Regions from separate parts of the Homo sapiens genome. Here region 2 is linked to region 1. The links are contacts of gene promoters, found by promoter capture Hi-C in blood cells and fetal thymus (Javierre and others, 2016). All regions are on one chromosome and are shown on one strand. Each heading gives the region's core, a stretch centred on a gene start or on the middle of the fragment in contact. The rest is flanking DNA. Distances are from core to core; before and after follow the strand shown.

The links. The method cuts DNA at HindIII sites, captures the fragments that hold promoters and counts their contacts. A CHiCAGO score of 5 or more calls a contact.
Region 2: a fragment that was not itself captured here is called in contact with the fragment with the promoter of SERPINB1 in region 1 in 1 of 17 cell types (activated CD4 T cells); the score reaches 5.6 in activated CD4 T cells.

Annotation. Positions count from the first base shown.
Region 1 is chr6:2,839,366-2,845,045 of GRCh38, reverse strand. It overlaps SERPINB1 (serpin family B member 1), which reads left to right and starts at 3,183. Exons shown (of 7, transcript NM_030666.4): 1 at 3,183-3,234; 2 at 4,452-4,627. The coding sequence starts at 4,460. RefSeq lists a silencer at 3,239-3,288. The HindIII fragment of the contact is 1,424 bases long and covers 2,955-4,378 here.
Region 2 is chr6:3,242,603-3,248,282 of GRCh38, reverse strand. No RefSeq gene overlaps it. Among named protein-coding and RNA genes, the nearest start is that of PSMG4, 14 kb to the left of the region's middle. RefSeq lists an enhancer at 623-1,188. The HindIII fragment of the contact is 4,996 bases long and covers 176-5,171 here.

The DNA of each region.
Region 1 (5,680 bases), core at 1,934-4,433:
GTTCTACTTTCAGGAGCTGGAGGCAGGAGGAATAATTCAGGAATAATTCAAGGTGGAGGAGAATAAGGAAAAACGCTTAGGAGACTGACACTTCTCCATATTATTGTTGGATGAGATGGGCTAGGAAGACTCGGGGGCAGTAATGTGGCCGTGTCCACACATTTCTCCTAGACAAGAGGGATAAGAACAAGGCCGGCTTCTCAAGAAGAGCCCCTGTCTTAGTCTTTTCCTGCTGCTTTATCAAAACATCTTGTAAACACTAGACACCTATTTCTTACAGTTCTGGAGGCTGGGAAGTCCAAGGCTGGGAAGTTCGAGATCTGCAGGTGCAGACTCAGTGTCTGATGAGGGCATTTTCTTGCGGTGTTCTCATTTGGTGGGAAAGGCAGAAGGGACAAATGCTGTGTCCTCACCTGACAGAACAGATGTTTTATGGGCTGAATGTGTCTCCCCAAAATTCATATGTTGAAACTTTATCACCAATGTGATAGTATTAAGAGGTAGAGCCTTAAGAAGTGCTTAAGTCATGAGGGCAGAACCGTCATGGGTGGGATTTGGGCCCTTGAGGGAGTGCGTTCATCCCTTTCCATCCCTCCCACCGCCACGTGAAGATACAGTATATTTCCCCCTTGGATGCAGCAACAAGGTGCCATTTTGGAAGCAGAGAGCAGCCCACACCAGGCACCAAATATGTGGATGCCTTATTCTTGGACTTCCCAGCCTCCAGAACTGTGAGCAATACATTTCTGTTTTTAATAAATTGCCCAATCACAGGTATTTATAGCAGCACAAATGGACTATGACAGAAATTGATACTGAGAATGGGATGTTGCTATAACTAATACCTAAATATGTGGAAACAGCTTTGAAACTGAGTAATGGGTAGAGGCTGGAAGAATTTGGAGATGCATGCTGGAAAAAGCCTGTATAGACATAAACAGAGCTTTAAGGGAAATTAAGGGTGAGGGCTCAGAAGACAAGGAGAGCTGTAGGGAGAGCCTAAATCATCTTAGAGATTAATTAAGTGGTCTGGTCTTGATCAGAATGCGGTTAGAAGTATAGATGGTAAAGACACTTTTGATGAGATCTTAAAAGGAAACTGGAGGAAAGGTCATCCTTGTTACACAGTGGCAATGAACTTGGCTGAATTGTGTCTATGTCCTAGTGTTTTCTGAATGGCAGAACTTAAAGGCAATAAACTAGGATATTTGATGGAAGAAATCTCTGAGCAAAGCGTTGAGAGTGCAGCATGGCTTCTCTTGACTGCTTGTAGTAAAATGTGAGCAGAGAGAATGAATTAAAAACGAAGTTTATAATCAAGAGGGAAGCAGAGCTTAAAGTTTTGGAAAATTCTCAGCCTGGCCATGTAAAGAATGAAAAGGCATGTTTGGGAGGGAACACCAAGAGTGCTGCCAGGTTCACATTTGATAATGAGATGAGTATGTGTAGAAGGAAGCCAGATGCTATTTATCAAGACAATGGAAGAATGAACCCAAAGGCATTTCTGAGGTTACTGGTTCTGGATTCTCATCCCTGTCCCAGAGTGCCAGGACCCTGAGGGCAGAATAGTTTTAAGGGAGGACTCAGGACACCATGGAACCTTGGGGCTTGCTGCCTAGGGCTGCCTCAAGTCTCTGCCCCCCCACCCCCCACATTCTGGTGCAGCACTCTTTGGCCACCATCCCACGTGTGGCTTATGCAGGCCCTTGTCAGGCCACCCTTCCTGTAAGCCTTGGCAGAGTCCACGTGATGCTAACTCTGCAGGTGCACAGAGTGCATGAACTGTGGAGACACAGCCACCTCCACCTAGATTTTGAAGGATGTGTTGGGGACCCTGGGGGCCCAGTCTGAGAATTGTCACTGAGGTGAGGCTGCTGCAGAAAACCCTCACTAGGGCAATGTTTAGTGGAGCAGTGGGATTGGGGCCACTGCAGAGAGCCCCAAATAGAGTAATATCTAGTGGAGCTGTGGGAACAGGGCTGTCCCTGAGAACCCAGAACTGTCCAGCCACCAGCATGCAAGTCTATCCTGGGAGAGCCTAGACCTCAACCTGTGAGAGCTGCTGCATGGGTTGCACCTGGCAAATCCATGGGAGTGGATCCCCTGGACACTAGGGGACCCAGTCTCCACCCCCCTGTGCTCGGAATGGGGGACACAGCATCAAAGAAGATTATTCTGAAGCCCCAAGATTTAATGCTGTTTGCCTTGTTGGGTTTGGACTTACTTGGGACCAGATACTCCTTTCTTCTTGCCTGCTTCTCCCTTTGGGAATGGGAATGTACGTCCTATGCCTGTCTCATCACTGTATTTTGAAGGCCTGTAACCTATTTGATTTCACGGGCTCATAGCTGGAGGGGAATTTCACTTAGGATGAATTGTACTTTGAATCTTATGCCTTTCTAATTTAGAAGATATTTAGGTGAGACTTTGGACTTACATTTTAAAGTTGATACTGGAACTTTGGAGGCCACTGGGATACAATGCATGCATTTTGCATGTGAGAGGGGTATGAATTTGGAGGGCAGGGGCAGAATGCTATGCTTTGAATGTCTGTGTTCCCTGCAAAATTCATGCTGAAACAATCCTCAATGCAATACTAACAGGTGGTGCCTTTAGGAGGTGACTGGATTATGAGGGCACCTTCCTCATGAATGGGATTGGCCCCTTATACGAGAGACTTCACATGAGATTTGGCCCCTTTTGCCCTTCCACTTTCCACCATTGAGGACGCAGCAGCAAGCTGTCATCTTGGAAACAGAGAGCAGGTGTTTGGAACTGGTTCTGTTTCATCTGATTCTGGGGGCCCCTCTTTTTCCCTGTGCAAGATCCCCAAATTTGCTTCCTTCTCTCAAAGAAAGCTCCCAATATAGATGGGACTCAAAGGGAGTCATTTGCCCTCTAAGAGGTGTCACAATATGTCGTCTCAGTCATTCACACCTTAGTAAGAAAAAGCTTTTCAGGTCCTTGCCAGAGATTCGGGGAAAGGCTTTGAACTGAGAAAGAAGCCGCGCCCCTGAGGAGGGCGCTGCCCGGAAGCCACGCTCACTTCTGCTTGCACTTAGGCGACCTCGGGAGCTCGGACTCCTACGCAGTCACCGGGAAGGGCCGCCGCCCCGCCCGCGGCTGCTGGCCCGGGTGACGCTTCCGCCTGCTATAAGAGCAGCGGCCCTCGGTGCCTCCTTCCTGACCTCGCACCCAGCTCGGAGCCCGGAGCGTGCCTCGGCGGCCTGTCGGGTAAGGCCGGGCCTCGGAGCGGTGGCGCGGGGGCGGGCGCGGGGAGAGGCCAGGCTCCCTCGCTCAGCTTCCAGCCCGGCACCCCCCACCCCCCAGGCTCAGGCCCCTCAGACCCGCAGCTCCCTGCGCTCGCCCTCCCCGCCAGCTTCGCGCCCCCATCCCTTCCGGGCGCCCCGACGGAGACAGACGACCTCTGATCCCCCGCCCCCGCCTGGGTACAGGCCGGGCCAGCCCGCGAGGGAGGGAGGGAGGGAGGACGACAGATGCAGGCGGAAGGCAAGACTGAAACCTGAGATCAGAATGTTGTCCCTTCTCCCTGAATTCCCTTCCTCCCAGAGCTGTTTGTGACGGTTTCCAGGCAGCCCAGGGCCAGGCCGCGGCTCCTATCTGCAGCTGCAGGGAGAGAGAGGAGGAACCCCGTGCGATTCTAGAGACGATTTCACAACAAGGAGAAATCAGCTTTGTGCTTACATGCCGAGCAGCCAGCACGGTTCTTCTTTGCCTGTCCTCGGGGGAAATCAGGGCTCTGAGAGTGGAGATCGAGATGGGCTAGTGGGTGGCGGATGGGACGCTGCACGGCCAGACCCTGGACTGTGGTGGGTTTCCAAACTGGCACATCCTACACCGGCTCTGAGACTGTGGGCACTGGACCTCATACCTTTTGAACCTCAAAAATAAGGAAGAATTATATTATTATAATAATTACAGTGATACCTTTGCTGGAGTTTTAATGCATAGTAGGTAGCTGAGTCTCTGATAGAAGGCTCTTAGTTCAGGTGAAGGTAGGCAATGGATTCATTGCCCAATGAATCAGAGACTTGAATCAAAGGCTCAGAAGCACGTGCGCTCCCACACATAGGTTGGGAAGACCCAGGGCTGGGTGGGCCCTCCCACCCCACTAAAGCTGGGGTAGCTGGGGCCTGCCTTACCCCCGCCCCACCCCCAGACTCACCTGTCTGCAAGGTCAGAGCCCTTTAGGGCACCCTGGGTGCCCTAAAATCCCCTATAACTGCTGAGTCCTTGGCCAGAATGGTCCCACATTTGTGGGCCTGGGAAAGTGTTCTTGCCCTGCTGGAATAAAAAAGCGGGGAGAAAGTACAAGATCCAGGATGCCTCAGGGCGGTTGGCAGAAATTGAGGAAGCTTCTGGAGAAATAGTGCTGCCTAATCTGCTGGCGTGGGCAGTGGGCACCATGAGGACCCTGTTCTGTGTTGCAGTTTTCACCATGGAGCAGCTGAGCTCAGCAAACACCCGCTTCGCCTTGGACCTGTTCCTGGCGTTGAGTGAGAACAATCCGGCTGGAAACATCTTCATCTCTCCCTTCAGCATTTCATCTGCTATGGCCATGGTTTTTCTGGGGACCAGAGGTAACACGGCAGCACAGCTGTCCAAGGTCAGCAGAAACAAAAAAAAGGGTCTGCTTTCCTCCCATCTCCCTACGAATGGACAGTCTGCATGGAAAGGTTGTGCCTTTGAGCTCTTACCTTGTGTTTTCAGAACTGTATTTTTATGAGATCAGACTTTCAGAAAAGTCACACTTGTATGCAGGCTTCCATTCATCATCAGGTTTTTCCTAAGTACCTACCACGTACCAGGAACTGTTTTTCGTATTGCTGAGGAGACAGCAGTGAGCAAAGCTGACAAAAATCCCTGCAGGGCGAGGCTTCTGTTCCAGTGGATGAATCTGACAGCTTTCCTGAAAGGCATACTACATCCTCCTGAGCTAGCATCTTCCAGTTTTTGCTTTGCATATGATGATATGCAACTCATAAATATTGCCTGTTATATAACACTACTTTCAAGCATAATGAGAGGAATAAGACATAGGGAATGCATTATAGTGGAGATAGTGGCATTGCTTTTTTGCAAGGAAAAGAGAAAAAGTGACCCTGTGGTTCTGTAGTCCCAGGGTGCTGCGCATGGCTCAGTGGGCTGTGGCATAGCACGCCCTGCAGGGGAGGTGAGGGGGAGACCCGCAGCTTCAGGGGCGGGACCCAGCCCTTGGCGATGTGACAGGTCACTCTCATGCCCAGCCTTCCTTCTTGTCCATAATGGACATGGAGAGGACTTCTGTGCTTGGTACTCTTTAATTCTGAGAAGAGAACTCTAGCTCTCTCTCTCTAAGCTCAGCAGAAAGGAGTGGTAAAAGTGGAGGCTCTTCTAACATACCTGCCGCAAATTACACTGCACCTGTTCCTTGGCAAGGTGCAGCCTGGGATTCAAGTTCAAGGGGCTGCGAAACTTCTATTACTCATCACTTTAGATATGAAAGCATTTTAAATGTTTTTTTTAAATCCATTAAAAAAAAAAAACCTCTGTTACTAATTGTTAGTTGCTTCTTGCAGGGTTATATCAGTTCCTAGCTTGAGGTTTTCCAGGGACTTTAAAACCTCAGCAAAGAATAGTTTTAAGGACTCCTCCCCCATTTCCATTAAAGCAGATGGAG
Region 2 (5,680 bases), core at 1,424-3,923, 400 kb before region 1:
GTGTGATTGTGGAGGGGCTACCTGACAGCTTTGGAAGGCACGCATGATCAGTGGGGCACAGTGAGACTCCCCGAGGATAAGCAAAGACACAACTCTCCCGTCCCACGAAAGAGAATTTATATCCTGGGTCCAAATCATGCCTAGTGAAAGAGCACCTTGTCTTCCGGGTAAAGCTTCCCAAGTTTTATTAGAATCCTCAGCCTGACTTCAGAGCGTTGTGCCTAAGATACGCAATCATGGAGGCTGGCAGAACAAAAGGCTGTTTCTCTCCGTCTCTCTCCTGCTGAAACGGATCATGTGATACAGAAGCAGATTCATCTGCAAGGCCCTGCGTGGGTGGGAGGGGCAGGTGGGCTGCTCGGAGCTCGCCTTGGGGTTTTGCTGAGAACGTCAAAGCCCTTTTCCCGCACCGGTGGCCGGACTCTGCATGAGTCACCGCCTGCCTGCAAGCCCAGAGCTCGCCGCACCCCCCTGCCTCTCCGCACCGTCCCACAGGCTGTGACCCTCCACCCAGCCATAGACGGTTCTGCTCTTGGCACAAAGGAGGGCTTCTTAGCCGGGAATATGGCTGCCCGGGAGGGGCGACTTCTGTGCTTGTTTTTCCTTCCTGGCACTGAAAACAAGCACATCCACCCAACAAATAAAGACGCGGTCAATGAAAGCAGCTGTGTTTCAAGGGGAGACAGGGAGCAAGCCAAGGAATAAATGAAAAGACCCAGTGACAAAATGCCCATTCATCGGGTTCACTCGGCAAACATTTACTGAAGCATCTGTGTGCCAGGCACTGTCCTGAGTGCTGGGAAGACACAAAGATGCCCTTCAGAACGATGACCCCCGCCTCGCCCTCCGCTGGAACCGGGAGGCAGACACACACATAAATACGACACAGTCAACCGTCCCCAGTTCACAGCATCTAAAGGAGCTAGGAATGCATGGGATGCTTATGGAATGTGCGAGAACACGGGTGAGTCTCACAAAAAGAATGTACACGGAGTACATACTGTCGGATTCCATTTCTATCAACTCCTGAAGCCTGCAGAGCTAACACCTACTGCTGGAGGGCAAGGCAGTAGCTGCTTGTTGGGGTAGGAGATGAGGAGAACACCAAGTGGGCTTCTGGAATGCTGGACACCCGTGGTCAGTGCACCTTTTTTTTTTCCAAATTGAGACAGGGTCTCACTCTGTTGTCCAGGCTAGAGTGCAGTGGTGTGATCATAGCTCACTACAGCCTTGACCTCCTGGGCTCAAGTAATCCTCCCACCTCAGCCTCCCAAGTGGCTGCGACTACAAGTACATGCCACCACACCTGGCTAATTTTGTTTATTTTTTGTAGAGACAAAGTCTCACTGTGTTCCCAGGCTGATCCCCAACTCCTGAGCTCAAGCCAGCCACCAGCCTTGGCCTCCCAAAGTGCTGGGATTACAGGCGTGAGCCACCACGCCGGGCCCAGATGAACAGGTAAGAGACACAAGCAGCTCTGGGAACTGCAAGGTGATTAGAAGATGGGGGCAAGACTGAGCACAAAGGCGGGAGAGCACAGGATGGAGCAGGTTAGGAAGCTGGTACAGGAATCAGGACAGCGATGCCAAGGTAAGGAAGGCATCGGGGGTACAGGAAAAAGCAGAACTAAATTCAGCAAAATGCTCCCAGTTGACCAGATCCTATGGAAAAACCCTCAGCTGAACGCCTGGGGCACCCACTTACAAAGGCAATCTTATCTTATAAAGAGAGGGAATTCTCACACAGGTCACAGCATGGATGAACCTTGAGGACATTTGCTAAGTGAGAGACAAAAAAGGACAAATACTGTATGAGTCCACTCATAGGCGGTGGCTAGAGTAATTAAATTCACATAAAAAAACAGAAAGTAGAATGGGAGTGGCCAAGGGCTGCGGGAACAGCAAATTGGTGTTTAATGGGGACAGAGTTTTAGTTTGGGGAGATGAAAAGTTCTGGAATGGACGGTGGTGACAGTTGCACCCCCATGCTTCATGCCACTGAACTGTGCACTTAGAAATGGTTAACGTGGCAAATTTTATGCTATGTGGTTTTTATCACAATGAAAATTTTAAAATTTAAAAAGTTGGGGCTGGGCGCAGTGACTCAGGCCTGTAATCCCAGCACTTTGGGAGCCAGGGGCAGGCGGATCACTTGAGGCCAGGAGTTCGAGACCAGCCTGGCCAACATGGTGAAACCCTGTCCCTACTAAAAATACAAAATTTAGCTGGGCATGGTGGCGGATGCCTGTAATCCCAGCTACTTGGAAGGCTGAAGCAGGAGAATCGCTTGAACCCGGGAGGCGGAAGTTGCAGTGAGCCAAGATCACACCACTGCACTCCAGCCTGGGTGACAGAGCAAGACTCCGTCTCAAAAAAATAAATAAAAACATAAAAAATAAATAAATAAAAAGCAACCCTGGCCTGGAAGGTCTGTCATCTTAGGTATATTTTTAACCAAGAAGTCCCATCACCCTAATGAGATTCTGTATACTTTGCTGCCCAAACCATAACAGGTCCTCCTCCAATAACCCAAAATAATTCACAGATTGTTACCGACTCTACAAATATCTTATTTTATAATTTTTCAGTCTTATGAATCAATTTCATTTCCAAGAGCCCTGTTGGGTAAGTAGCCCAATTTCTGAACACTCCTCTCTTGAAGCTGTTGCTAAGAACCCACCATCCCCAGCTTCTCAGCATGGTAGGAACCATGACTTAGCCATTGCCTCCTCTATGCCTAGTACTATCCTAGGTCCTTCTTTAAACCATTTCTATCCCTCACAGTAACCCCATGAGGAAGATATTATTTCAAAGTCAGGCTGAGGAGGCCAAACATCAGACCAGTTGTGTAACTTGCCCCCGGGTCCATGCAGTGGGTTGAGAGTGAAACCAGGATTCCTGGCATAAAGTCTGCGCTTTTCCCACTCATTCCACGTAGCTCCTAGTGCTTTCTTCCATGGCGATGGCATTGAAGTGCAGATCCGTCTTCTCAGTCCTGACTCCTAGACTTTTCCCTCCAACCCCCAAGGTGATGGGATAAAGAGATAGGGCCTTTGGGAAGTTAGTGCTGTTATTAAAAAGGCCCCAGGCTGGGTGCAATAGCTCACGCCTATAATCCCAGCACTTTGGGAGGCTGAGACAGGTAGATCACCTGAGGTCAGGAGTTCGAGACGAGCCTGGACAACATGGTGAATCCCCGTCTCTACCAAAAATACAAAAATTAGCTGGGCATGGTAGCACACACCTATAGTCCCAGCTGCTTGGGAGGCTGAGGCAGGAGAATCTCTGGAACCCAGGAGGTGGAGGTTGCAGTGAGCCGAGGTTTCAGTGAGCCGAGATTGCGTCATTGCACTCCAGCCTAGGTGACAGAGCAAGACTCCATCTCCAAAAAAAAAAAAAAAAATTAAAAGGCGCCAGAGAGCTGCTTTCTCCTTCAGCCACATAAGGGCACAACAACAAGGTGCCACGAAGCAAAGAGCCCTCACCAGACATGGAATCTGCGGGCGCCTTCTCAGCCTCCAGAACTATCAGCAATAAATTTCTGTTGTTTATAAATTCCCCAGTCTAAGATACTTTGTTATAGCAACCTAAATGGACTGAGACTGACACCCATTGTGTAATATAACACTGATGATAACTGTTCCAATCACTGGGCACCTACCCTGTGTCAGGAACTGCATTTATGAGCTTTAGGTGTTGACAGTAACCATATCGGGAGGTATTAATATTCCTTGTTTCCGCCTTTTTTTTTAGTGTGCCATTTGATTCCAAATGCTATGCTCTTCCCACTTGGCTCTTCTGTTTTGTTTGTGCAATCTGGGTTCGTCTCGGAAGTGTGTATTTAAGGTTCTCTCCAGGTTAGAGAGAATGTGGCAGCATGCCTGATGATGTCACCCACTGCTTCTGTTATACCCTGCCCAGCTTACCCCTTCCCTCTGGGCCTTTTATAGGACCTTGTATTTAGTCCAACAACAACAATAGCACAACACCCATAAACAAAACACCTCTGCATATAATACAATGTACTTGCCTACTTGCTGACTGAAAGAGCTCCCACAGCCTCCCAGGTGCTGCCCTGCGCTTGGAGCAAAGCCTATCTGAGGCTGAAGAATGAGTAAGTCACCACCTGAATCCTGCCCTCCAGCCAGCTCTCTTCATCATGGAAATTCTTGGAGCAGAGTGGAAGGGAACCTGAGAGGAGAGATGGCACCTTCACTGATTCCTCCTTTATCTTTCCAGACTTCATGGCTGAGACAGAGCTGAGAGCAGAGAAAACAGACTCATAAAATCCTGGCAGAATCTTTCCATTCTAATAGGTAGGTTGGGGTGTGGTGGCTCATGCCTGTAATCCTAGCCCTTTGGGAGGCTGAGGCAGGAGGACCACCTGAGCTCAGGAGTTCAAGACCAGCCTGGGCAACATAGTGAGACCCTGTCTCTACGAAAAATAATAATAAAAAACAATTGGCCAGGCATCATGGCATGCACCTGTAGTCCCAGCTGTTCAGAAGGCTGAGGTGGGAGGATCACTTGAGGCCAGCAGGTTGAGGCTGCAGTGAGCTGAGATGGCGTCACTGTGGGCAACAGTGGGAGACCCTATCTCAAAAAGCAAACAAACAAACTCTAATCGCCGTTAAAGTTAAATGATCTACAATCTGGCTTTATGCTAGGGTAAACTGTCTTCTCACAGCTGGAAATGAAAATTCCCTATAGTAGTTGGAGGGCTCCCGACCCCCAGCCTCCCAACCTACCACACTCCAACTTTGTCTGTGCCCTGCCACGAACACTTTTCTAGAAGAGACCCCTTCTGCCACCCCACGTTTGCCACAGTGGGCTCCTCAAAGTGCTCATCCAGGAGACTGAAGATTCTAAGTTTCCAACCCAGAGACTGGAGCCAACAGAATCCCTTTTCCAGGACTTAGCATTTGGGACTCACAGAGATTTCCTCTCCCTCATTGGGCGACTGGGCTATAACAGTGGGCTTCAAAGTGAAGCTAGTAGACTGGGGACATGAAGACGTTGGAGGGGTGCAGAGTCATGAATAGCTGTCAAGGATTGGTTTCCAGATCTAAAATTGACACCTATAGTCTTTCCTATACAGACATGCTCTACTGGCGAGTGTTCTGGTTCTGAGAGCTTGTCTTTCTTTATCAACTGCCCTTTCAAGCTCAAGCTTCCCCTATTGCACAGAAGAAATGCAAGCCTCTTCCCTTCTGGAATCGCACCATGGGCAGTACTCCAGAGAGTGGAAACTCTCTGACACCAAACAAGGGACAATTCAAGAATAAATGGCACCTGAGTCCCAGGAGGGCAAAGCAGAGTGAGAAAAGAATTAGTGAGTGATGTGGAAAGGACAACATCCTTTCATCCCAGAGTCAAAGCCCCGGCAAGCCTCCAGGCCTCAGCGCTCCCTCTGTCTTACAGCACAAAAACACCTTTTGTGGATGGGAAAGGACTCAGGACGTGATCAGACTGGCCTGCTGAGAGTATCATAGGGAAGTGCTGGATGGGTTCATGGAAAGAAGTATACACAGATGAGGAACAGCAGAAAGGCATGGTAGGTGGAAATCACTGGAAAAAGTAGAAATCATCATCAGTTATTAACAAAGAATTGAGTTGAATTATATGTAGAAACATAGAGGGGTGATAGTATTGAATTTTACATTCACTTATTATGGCAATAT